Regions from separate parts of the Homo sapiens genome. Here all the other regions are linked to region 1. The links are contacts of gene promoters, found by promoter capture Hi-C in blood cells and fetal thymus (Javierre and others, 2016). All regions are on one chromosome and are shown on one strand. The core of a region is centred on a gene start or on the middle of the fragment in contact, and the rest is flanking DNA. Distances in the headings are between cores, read along the strand shown. Region 1 holds the start of RANBP3L (RAN binding protein 3 like). Region 2 overlaps SLC1A3-AS1 (SLC1A3 antisense RNA 1). Region 3 overlaps SLC1A3-AS1 (SLC1A3 antisense RNA 1).

What was found. Contacts are between HindIII fragments. The CHiCAGO score rates a contact against its expected background, and 5 or more counts as called.
Region 2: a fragment that was not itself captured here is called in contact with the fragment with the promoter of RANBP3L in region 1 in 3 of 17 cell types (M1 macrophages, monocytes and M0 macrophages); the score reaches 6.1 in M1 macrophages.
Region 3: a fragment that was not itself captured here is called in contact with the fragment with the promoter of RANBP3L in region 1 in 5 of 17 cell types (M1 macrophages, M0 macrophages, megakaryocytes and 2 more); the score reaches 9.2 in M1 macrophages.

Annotation. Positions count from the first base shown.
Region 1 is chr5:36,299,779-36,303,693 of GRCh38, forward strand. It overlaps RANBP3L (RAN binding protein 3 like), which reads right to left and starts at 2,124. Exons shown (of 14, transcript NM_145000.5): 1 at 1,548-2,124. The coding sequence starts at 1,638. All of the region lies in intron 1 of LOC124900962 (a long non-coding RNA gene), which reads left to right. The HindIII fragment of the contact is 7,999 bases long and covers 1,794-3,915 here.
Region 2 is chr5:36,714,679-36,718,593 of GRCh38, forward strand. The region is part of intron 1 of SLC1A3-AS1 (SLC1A3 antisense RNA 1); the gene reads right to left. Among named protein-coding and RNA genes, the nearest start is that of SLC1A3-AS1, 8.6 kb to the right of the region's middle. The HindIII fragment of the contact is 7,263 bases long and covers 1-3,915 here.
Region 3 is chr5:36,696,243-36,700,157 of GRCh38, forward strand. The region is part of intron 1 of SLC1A3-AS1 (SLC1A3 antisense RNA 1); the gene reads right to left. Among named protein-coding and RNA genes, the nearest start is that of SLC1A3-AS1, 27 kb to the right of the region's middle. RefSeq lists a silencer at 1-179. The HindIII fragment of the contact is 4,957 bases long and covers 1-3,915 here.

The DNA.
Region 1 (3,915 bases), core at 874-3,373:
TGCAACTGTTAAAAATAAGGTTGTAGAAGAATATTTAATGACCTGGAAATTTGTTCATCCTCTGTCATTAAATTAAAAAGCAGTTTACAAAACACTGTTTACAAAAGTATCCAGAACAAGTCTATATTGTTTAAAAAGCAAGCAAAGGAATAATCCATACAAGTGCATAGAAGAAAAGTCTAGAAGTTTATACATTAAAATGTTAATAGCAATTATCTTTGGGTGGTGGGGTTACAGGTGACTTCTTTAGGCTCACCCCCACCAAATTTTCTATTAAAATTATCATATTAGCAATTGAAGTGGGGGGAAGTCACTTTAACATTTCATACAAAGTCAACAGAAAACAAAAACCTCTGATAAACTAGAATTGTTTACTAACAGAGAAGCAAGAGCATTTTACAGTGCTATGCCTTAACCCTGACACATTCCAGGACTTTACATTCTAGGGTACTTGGTTCAAAATTTATTTGAGCACTAGTAGTAAAGCATGGTCTAAAAGTTCACATTGTTTTCATTTACCATGAAGTATTTTCTGCCGACACTATGCTAAGCCTTGTAGAGCATGAAGTCATGTTATACAGCTCCAGGAACCGATGCAGAGAGGTGGCCTGACACATTCATGTGACTGTTAGCACACAGATTCCATCTTGGAAATGGGAGGTTTTGGCCCTTTAGCCAACACTCTCCACACCACTGAAATCTAAAACTGCGTCTACAGAAAAATAATTAAAGAGCTCATTGCCTAGACCTACACATAAAAAGATCTATCCTAGGTTATTGAGGAGAAGTTAGAAGTGTCTGGTGAATCCTTAACCTCTGTGGAGTGATGATGTCATCCATGAGAGACCCAGCCTTTCCCACAAGTGTCATTTGCTGTCCCTGACAGGGTGGATTGGAGGGATCATCTTGTCTATTCATGTCAACCATCTGACACTAACTCAGCTGGCTGGAGAGTGGATTTGAAAATTTAAAAAGACTGATGGTGAAAATGGCTGGGAGGTAGATAGTTTAGTTTGAATGAGTGCCCAGCAAGTGAAATGTGACACTTTTCCCTGACTGTCTCCAGATGTCCCTGGACCATAAAAAGGAAAGAGTCAAGAATATATTTATTTTTCCCACAATGAATGAGCCAGAGATCCAGACAAACTTAGGCTTAAACAAAGTGAAAAAAGTGTCCCACCAGTGGTACTATGGTAGAGAAAGCTCCAGGCTAACTTAAAGCTACTCTCAGCTGAAATCCCCCTTGTAGCTGACTCAGCCTTGCTCAGATGGGTGTTTTGAATTAGACAAAATCTAGCATACTCTAAAAAACACAGTGGCTAGAAGTTTAAGCATGTAAGTTTCAGAATGACAGCTCCAAGGAATATGCATTCTTGACAGTCTTCCATAGTCCTCTAAAAATCAATAGTGAATCCAAGTTAACCCACCCTTATGCATCACTATTATGTCAGAGCTTCCCCGGGTCCTTCACCAGCCCACCATTCTTCCTGGAATGCAAATGCACAGAAGGTCACAGAATATGCAACTCATGAGCTGGACGGACTCACCTTGCTGTCGCCGGTCCTCCTGCAGCTTCAGTTTACAGGTGTGCAAACTGCCAGGCAGGTGGCTGCTGCCTTTTCTTGGTATGGTAGTCATGGTCCTAGCAGTATGGCTGTGACTCAAGGATCACTAGGGCACCTCCTTCTCTGGCCAGTCACCTAAAGTGGCCTTCACCAGACACCCAGAAATACATAGATTCATGCAGATCTTGTCTTTGCATGTACAACATATACTCCTCTACTAAACTTCCAAGCTTTTTCCAGTCATGATTCTTGAAATAAATAATCACCAATGTTACTTCTCCTAAATATAAAGATGCCAATTCATTTGGTTAAAAACACAACTTAATTCCTTCATTTCAAAACAAATTGAAACTAAACCTCCTTATAGAGTAAAATTCTACAAATTAACTATTTCTAACAGATTACACTTTTGTCATTTTTAAATTCCTTTTGGCGACATGAAATCCAATGCCTCCAGTATTTAGAGAAGGCTGCTAAAATAATACAGACACAAAGAAAAGAAAAAGTGCTGCTGAGTTAAGTCAAGTGATTTCTAAGCCTGATCTGAGTTACCCTCTGTGACAGCTGAAAGTGTACAGTTCTTAAGGGACTCTGGAAGGAGGAGGAGCAAAGTGGGCTAGGATGATTAGCATAAAGAGGCAGGCAAGACGGGCATTGGAGCTGCTTTGAATAATAGTGAACAAAGCACAGATTCTAAAGATGCCCTGCCCTTATGTTACAGTAACTGAGTACCTGATTTCTGCTACTTTGTTTGTAATTAAAATGCAAGCTGAAAGCAGGAGTTTATACTGCAAGGACATTCATTTGTGCATGTGAAATCTAAAAGGTATAAATGGAACTGGTAATGAGCTCATGGAAATGTACTGCTGGAACTTTCAATTTCTGTAAACACCTCCTAGTCTTCGGAAGGGAGCAGTTAGAGGGCAGCCTTCCTGCCAAGGCAACTATTTGGAGTTCTGGAAGAAAAATAAACACACAAAACATTATCTTTCCAGAGTCCTATTTCTGTTTCCCACTTAGAGTTCTTATTGCTACTTCTAGGTCATAGGAGAAAGTAATTTCCAGTTTTACTCGTTGGCTATTTCCTTACTGTTTGGAAACATAAACCCCAAACACCATTAATTTAACTTGAGAGCTTGCCATAACTGAAGTCATAATGAATGCTGGTAGGTCCTGCCCTTCAAGAGTCACAGCTCTTCGCAGATTCAGAAAGAAGGTAGTGGGCAGGACTAAGGAGAAAGGCAGAGCTGTTTAGCCTCGAAGTCTGGACTCTGCAGCTTCTTATGTGCATTTGGAAATTGGTGTTAAACTTGACACTGTAATGAATTTACCTCCTAACCAGATCTGGGTGGCTGCCCTCATTTTACTTTGAGGCAATTAACAATTCCCCAAGTATAGTCTGGTTTATGAAAATTTTTATGAAGTAGGTGATTGATCTTTTATAATTCTTGAATGCTTTAATTGTTTCAGTAGTCTATCTACTGCAGTTTTAGGCTAATCACAGTGTAACAGATGACAGAAGTGTTGTGCTACTTTGAAAGAGAGTCTTGTTATTGGAGAGTCATAGTTTCTACTTTAAATGTCTGCTATTCATCTCATCTTCCACAAAAGCCATGGTGGAGAGACAAGGTGATTTTTCCTGAATATGTAAAGTTATTGTTATTCTATCAAGTTATGTACCTCACTAATAAGCATATTATTATACAGGTAAGTTAAATAACCTACAAAACTGTAAGCCAGCCCTTTTGAGAAATACATTTAAAATGTTTTATGATGAAAAAATTTAAAAATACATGAATAGGAGAGAATAGCACAATAAGCCCTGCATACTCATCACTTGGCTTCAATATTATCAACTCATAGACAATCGTGTCTTAAAACTATGTGTTTCATTATAGCTGTTCTCCCCCTTATTACACCACTGGAGTTGAAGCATCCAGACATCATTGCATTAATAAATATTTCAGTGTATATTTCTAAAATGTGAGGATTTAAAAATAGATAACCATAATAAGATAGTCACGCACATAACAATTAAATATGATTATTTGATGTAATTAAGCATCCACACAGTGTTCTTATTTTCCTGATTGTCTCATAAACTTTTTTATCTTTACATTTTTTGCAAATTGGGACCCAAAGGTCCACACATTGTATTTGGTTGATATGTTTCTCAAGTCTTTTTTAATCTATAGGTTCATCTCAGAGAGAAATGTTGCTTGGAGATGAACATCTACACTTACCCTAATTTATGTCTGATTTTTTCAAGGAAGCCCCCTAGATGCCTCCATTTTTCTTACTCAGGAAAAAAAGAGAAAAAAAAAGGGTGGTCATCTGGCCATGGAGGCTA
Region 2 (3,915 bases), core at 483-2,982, 410 kb after region 1:
ACAAGGCTGGTGATGTGGCACACATTGAAGGAAGCGACCAAATCTCTCTCTAAATACAAAAGAGAAAAGAAATAAAGTGGAGGTAATTATTTTAGTAATTCAACAGCTCCCCTCCTGAATTACTGGAATAATTGCCCTATCTTTAGTGGAGATTGGATTGTATGCTTAGTAGCGGCTCTAGGCCTGGATCCTAACCGTGGTCTTCAGGGTAGGGTAGTCTTCCAGTCCTCCACTGCTACTGCAAACTTTATGCTCCTTGGCAATGTGAGTACAACCCTCCCCATTTTCATTCCTTAAACACACTCATATCCCCTCCTGTTTAACCCTAAATTCTCAGGGCTTGTCCATCAAGTAGAACCAGGCCATGGAGGGTATTGGCTAGAACAGAGGTTATGGCTCCATAGGAAGGTGTTTAATGTGGCATTATTTTTCAATGGAACCATGGACAGTCAGATGCCATTTTTAATCCTTTATAAGAAGTCAGCAAAGGAGTAAGAACAACTCCCCAGAATCTCTTGCTAGAATCCTGTCTGGCCCTCAAGGCAATCTCAGCTCTGTCTTGAGGCTTTGTGGCACCCGTCATTGTCTCCCAACTCCTTCCCCCAACATGCACCAATGAAGGCTTCCGCATGTTCTTGCCTTTCTGACCTAAGTTGTGCCTTGCACTCTCCCTCTTATCCCTGTCCTACCCCAGCACACATACACACATGCACACACATGCATGCATACGCACACAATCTTTTGCCCCCACCCCCACGCACACACCCCACACACTGATCTTTTGCCATGACCCCAGTGGTCATAAATAACAGCAGCTTGGAGCTTATATGGGTTCCAGTTGTGGGACCATTTCTGAACTATTGGTCAAGCTCTATGCCTCAATTTTTTTTTTTTTTTTTTTTTTTGAGACGGAGTCTCGCTCTGTCGCCCAGGCTGGAGTGCAATGGCGCTATCTCAGCTCACTGCAACCTCCACCTCCCAGGTTCACGCCATTCTCCTGCCTCAGCCTCCTGAGTAGCTGGGACTACAGGCACCCGCCACCACGCCCAGCTAATTTTTTTGTATTTTTAGTAGAGATGGGGTTTCACCATGTTAGCCAGGATGGTCTCGATCTCCTGACCTCATGATCTGCCCATCTCAGCCTCGCAAAGTGCTGGGATTACAGGCATGAGCCACCGCGCCCGGCCATGCCTCAATTTTTTAATCTCTAAAATGAGGATAACAAAACATCTATTACAAAGAGTTGTTTTTGAGGTACTAGAAAAAATGCCTGGTGCAACACATACTAGCTCTTATTATTATGGGACATGGTGTCTGCGATGGTGTGTGCTGACCATGCCCATAGCTCCCTTCAGAGAAAAGCGATCACAGGTAGACCTTTCTTAAGATGCCATAGCTAATGTTCACTGAATTAAAGGTGAGGACCCAAGCCAAAGGGAGCCACATACAAGTAAACAGAAAATCAGTAAGGCCAGTTGCCAAGGAGAAAACTCTGCTTCAGATGCTACCCAATGGGGGCCACCATTCAATATGGAGTGCCCTGATAGAACTTCTCTCTTAAAATTTTTGAATATAAAAGCTCTCAGAAAATAAAACAAGAGAGGCCTGCTTGGAAAGAGATGAAAAGATGACCAGATCACTAGCAGGGCCATCATACTCTGAACGGCAATGATTCACTGAGTTATCCATGAAACCCACTGTGTACATTTAAGCCTGGAAAGCAAAGGATCCAGGGACAGCATAGATGCTGAGATAATTTCCCACATTTCTTTCCTTCTGATGTATCTTTTTCTCAAAACCTATCCCTAAGCAGTGATTTTCAAACTTTAGTGTTAATAGGAACCTGTGAGATTTGTGAAGATGTAGATTCCTGGGTGCTCCCACTAGAGATTCTGATTCAGGAGAACTGGGATGGGGCCTCAGATAGGGTCACTATTTGTGGCTACACAACTTACTCACTGCGTTCCTCCAGGAAGCACATTCATACTGACTGTGATGTGAATGCCTCCTGGGAGTCGTGCAGTACACAAGCTGCCCCACTGAATGTGGCAGCCAGGAGTAACTCATATAAGTGGCTCCAGTCTCACAGTAAGAAAGAGTGAAGGTAACCTGGATACCTTGTCATCTAAAAGAATTCGGGGTCAGGCATGGTGGCTCATGCCTGTAATCCCAGCACTTTGAGAGGCCAAGGCAGGCAGATCACTTGAGGTCAGGAATTCGAGACCAGCCTAGCCAACACGGTGAAACCTCGTCTCTACTAAAAATACAAAAATTTAGCTGGGCGTGGTGGCAGGCGCCTGTAGTCCCAGCTGCTTGGGAGGCTGAGGCACAAGAATCGCTTGAATCCTGGAGGCGGAGGTTGCAGTGAGCCAAGATCATGTCATTGCATTCCAGCCTGGACGACAGAGTGAGACCTTGTCTCAAAAAAATAAAATAAATAAATAAATAATAAAAGAATTTGGTGAATACTAGTCCCCTGCTGACCCATTGCAGGCCCTAGTCACCACTCATAACCATACAGTATCTACAGCTGGCAAGGACTTCAGTAGAAAGGGAAAAGGTTAGGCAGAGAAAGGACCAGCACATTTGTATTTCATTATATACAGAAAGTTTCAATAAGAGGCTTAGAGTTTAGTCTAAATATATGTCCCTTCTGAGTGCTACTGGCTGTGAAGCAATCGGAATGAAACCAAATACAAAGAGTGCAGAATGAATCGCTGCTGAAAATCTTACAACACCCTGAGGCACTGGCATTGTGCTCCCTGCTCCCTGCCTCTCATTAAAAATACTGCTTTCCAAGCCCCATTAATTGGGAGGGTCTCAATATAGTTAGGGAGTAGGAAGACTCCACAGGCCTTTGAAAAGATAATTGTGCATAGAGAGAAAGGATTTATCATCTACCAAGTGAGCGCAAGTCAACAGGTTTTTGCAGAGCACTGTTAGGGGTTGATAGGATAAAACGGAATTTAAAGACTCCATCCCCAGCTACCCAAAGAAACTGATGTCTTTCATGGGGAAGCGGGACACAATTAAAACACAGAAACACATTGAAGGACAAGGAAGAGATATGTCACGAAGTGCCAAGTTACTGAGCCTGTACATGCAATTAGAGTTCAGAAAACCAAGAGAACAGTGAGGCTTCCCAAAGCCACATGGAAGCAATTGAAGAATATTCCAGTGGCTACTTTTGTAAAAGGTTTGAAAGGAGAAGCAGACTTGCTCACTTTTCTGCTGACAGAGCCCTGTGCTGGATGTCGCTTATGTCCATTTCATGTTCTCTGGACCTCACATTTTACTCCAGTTTTCCTGAGTACACCTCACTTCTGCTGCATGATTGACAGGGGCTTCTCAGACGCCTGGCCTGGGACATCTATGAGAATCACCCAGCACTTGTGCGAATCTGGCAGTGTGAGGGAGTTAACACCTGGAGTTGATCCTTGACCAGCCAAGGATGGGAGCTTGTGGATGCCTGTCCCCATCGTGTCCCTTGAGTAGGCAATCATGAGATTCATTCTTCATGGCTGTCAGAGAGTCCCAGGAGGATCAGGCTCCAGTTTCCCACAACTGCCACCAAATTTGATCATACAACTTTGTAGGTACTGATTTGCCTTCTTTCTTTCTTTCCCCCTTCCCAGTCCCCTACTCCAGTTCCCTGAAATCACTTCTGAAAATAAGCTACTTGCACACAAACCCTTGTGTCAGGCTCTGCTTCCTGGAAGGACTTCAGGGGCTATGACAAGCCCCTGGGAAGATGATGAGTTCTGTTTTTGAGAACTCGAATATTTTCTCAGTTTGCAGTGAACTCTGACACAGGGCTTCTCCCCAAGCAGTTTGCCCTCTAGGAACGTGTAAACCAAAATGTACTATATGCTTGACTTAGAGGTTTAACCAGAAATGAGATTATATTTTAGGAAG
Region 3 (3,915 bases), core at 1,138-3,637, 400 kb after region 1:
CTCTTGTTAGCACTGACATCTGGTGGTCACTGAGAGGCCAGCACCCCAGCATCTTGAACTTAAAAGTATGCACCTGGGAACCAGGCACCAACCCCGACGACTCCAGCAGAATTGATTCCTCGTCCCCCTCCTCTCCTGGACCACCTACCTTCTCCATGCAGCTGGACTCAGCAAGCTGGAGAGAAAGATCAAGGATTTAGAGTCGGATGCAGCCAGGGTCCACAGCCTAACACGTGATCCCAGGTAAACTATCTAAACTCTGTAAGACTCAGCTGCAAAATTGGGATAAGAAAACAATCTACATTGGGCATTGGGGTATCTTATTTAACTCTCAAAACAACTTCTTTGATGTTAAGTTCCACATACCTATTAAGCATCCAAATGTTGATTCCCTTCTTCCTTCTGTCATTTTATTTAAGGCACGCTCTATTCCTTCAAAGTCTTGAGTCCCACTTCCTTTCTATCATTTTTTGTCTGGCTTACTCCATTGAAATAATAGCTAATATTTATGGAGTGCCTACTATGAGCCAGGTGTTGTTCTGAGATGTACACTGTTAAAATCGAGCTATGTCAGCCCTCTGAAGTCAAGACTATCATCTTCCCTCTGTTTCACTGATGAAGAAAATGAGGTGGGGTGAGTTTAAGCAGGTTGCCCAAGGCCACAAGTCTTGGGACTAAATTTTTAAACCCAACACTGTAGCTCCAGAAGGCACACTCTTAACTTTTGAGCTGAATTTGACTCTTTGCCTTCTGTTGTAATAATAGCTAATGCTTATTGAGTGATTATTAAGTGCTGGGTTCTTATATATATTATCTCATCTAATCTTTACAAAAACCTATGAGATCATTATTATCATTATCTTCATTCTACAGATGAAAAAAACTGAGGTTAAATGATCCGCCCGAGGTCACGAAGTCAACAAATGGTGAAATTGGAATTCCAACTTGGATAGTTGGATTCTGTAGTCTTTGGCCTTAACCATCCTTCTCCTGGAGGGGATGCTGGAGTTATGTAGTTCCAGCCTCCCAATGAGCCTGTGATCTCGAAGGCAGAGCAGTCTCTGCTGGTAGAAGGCACTTCCTTGCCAGATGGTTGATGACAGTGATAGTGATCTGGCTACGCTGGTGAGGCCAGTCCTGCCTTTGTGGCTGCACAGTAGCGCAGCTTCAAGGAGAGGTCAATAGAAAGGCCTCAATGACTCTCAGGTGACTCTCAGCAGATTTCCTGCCCAGTGTCTAAAGGCAAGGGACAATAATACTGACACTAAGAGAGCTCTCAATTCAATGTGCCATCCCTGACATGGGTTCTTGTCATTCCCTTAATTTAAACTCTGCAGTGGCTTCTCATGGCTCCAGGATAAAGTATAAATTCCTGCACGGAGTGTCAGGGTCTCTGATTACTGAACCCCTGCTTCCCTCTCCATCCTGATTTGCAGTCCTCGCCTCTGTTGGAAGGAAATAGCCACAGAACAAACTTGCCCCCCATGGCACTGTGCTCTCATAACTCCAGGCCTTAGTTACACATGCTGGTCCTCATCTGGAAACATCACCTCCCTACCCCAACTGTCCCCTCGCACCCCAAACCACTCGGCCCACCTCCTTGTTGACTCCAACTCCTACTTCAGTGGAGGCAGCAGGTGTTTCAGGAAGCCTTTCCAGACCCCTCTTTGTTCCCCTTGGCCTCCCAGGTTACTGATATCATGGCAGAATGTGGTCTGTCTCCCACCAACTATATGCTTCTTTAGGGCAAAAAGTGGGTTTTTTAAAAAACCATTGTACCCCAGTGCCTGGCACAGAGTAAAAAAATAAATTTAAGTATATATATATATAAATTTAAATTGTATATATATATGTATGTAAAATGGTGAATTTCAAATGACCATTGTTAGCAACTATTTGAGTGCTGCGCACTTCCCCTTCCATTCTTTCCCAGTACAGGTGTTACTGACATTTTTGGTGAGACAATTCATAAGGTGGGAATGCCCTGAGAATTGCAGGCATTTGACATCCCTGAGTCCTGGACACCAGATGCTGGTAGGTCCCCACCCCTCTACCATCCCCATCACCCTTTCCCATTTTCCACCTTTTCATCCTTGTTGCTGTGACAATGAAAAATACACCTTTACATATTTTTTTAACATCCTCGCAGAGGTACCTTCCTCAGAACCACTGTAGCTAAAAGGTGTTTCCGATTCGGACAGAACATACTTTCCTTGAATCGGGCATTCACAATGTTTATGGAAAGTTTACATTTCATCTCTAATGCCAATGCTTCTGCATATTTATTTATACATTCTGTATATTTCTAATGCCATTGCTTCTGTATATTTCACCTCTAATACCATTGCCTGTCATGTGTAAGCTCCAGGAGACCCTCTTGGGTGACAGTGAACTTGAGCTGTGTAGCAATGACATTATCATGATATGAGTCTGCCCCTGATAGGGATAAAGGGTAAGGAGGGGAGAGGAACTCAGAGAGATAAAATGTTAATCACATTGTTAGGGCAGGGATGACAATAGTATTCACCTTTTCTACTTGACCAACTTAATGAAAACAGTAAAATTCTCTTGGGGAATTCTCAGTATCCATTGTTAACATCAATTACACAAGCAGTAGACATCAGGTCTGTGTCAGGAGCAAATGGCTGACCTGAAGAGATGCCTTATGTGCTTTGAAGGTAGTGCTAGGAGGGCTTACAAGTTATGTTGAATATTTGACATTGCTGATACCCAGTTGTTTTGGGAAAGTAAAAATCCTCCCTTTGATTGACTGGTGGTCTCAGTTTCCTTCTCTGCAATGGGGATTTTTTTTTTTTTTAATGCTTCTCTGTCTAACTGAGTAGAGCAAGGAAAAACCTCAGGAATTTCAGAAATGAATGTACCATTCACCTTTCTATTTTGAAGGCTAACTATTGCTTAAGTCAGGCCTTGTATCTTCATTATCAGTGTCAGCACATCAAAGTGTTAAGTATGGGACTGTGTTATGAAAGAGACCATGAAACTCTACTATCATTTCTTTTATACTTATAGGCATTGATCACTTTAATCAAAGATAAAACACCTTGTTTAAAACAATTAGCTTTGACAATACATGTATAAGCAGAACCTTAAATTGTAAATGTGTTCATTTTCTTCTTCCCTACTACACATATTAAATAATAGAGACAAGAAAAGTAGGTGGAAGATGATTCCAAGTAACTTTGGGGCATTATTACAAAGTGAAGCTGGTAAGATTTTTGTCTTTTTGACAAATTCAAGGAAGCCTGCAGAAAAAATCTTGTTTCAGGAGTACATTTTCACTTAGCTGTTCTCTAAGTAGAAATGCATTACTCCTAGAAAGAAAAATGAAAGTTCTTCAACTGCCGAAGACAAAATGACAGATTTGGCTTCCAGCAATACATTCTTGACAGCTACTAGAGTTTCAGGAAAAGAAAACAAGAAAATTAAATTTGACAGAAATGAAGAGGGGGAAAAAAGAAGCAATTTTTTCTAGTTAGCATCTCAATGTCTTTGGAGGGATTTTAGGGCAATTCCATAACAGACCACTTAGGCATCTCCCCCATGTTCCCCTATAGATGTGAATGTTATTTTAATGGAGCTGCCACCCTATAGACAACAGGTGGTGTCTACACGTGAGTCCACAGACTGACTGCATGATGACTTGCTCAAGAGAACTTGAGAACAAACGGGAGCCACGACACGCTTGGAAATGAATTGTACAGCTTTCCATCAGACTTCATTTCTGTAAACTTAAGAATATACTTCTGCAGAATTTTGCAAAAGCCTGTACTCAAGTTTGGGCTTCAGATGGAGGAGCTTGTTTTTTCCATGTTTGGACAGCTATGTGATCCAATATGGCAGGAGCTATTAAAATGTAAATTAATTTACCTATATTATTTAAATAAATTACTTAAA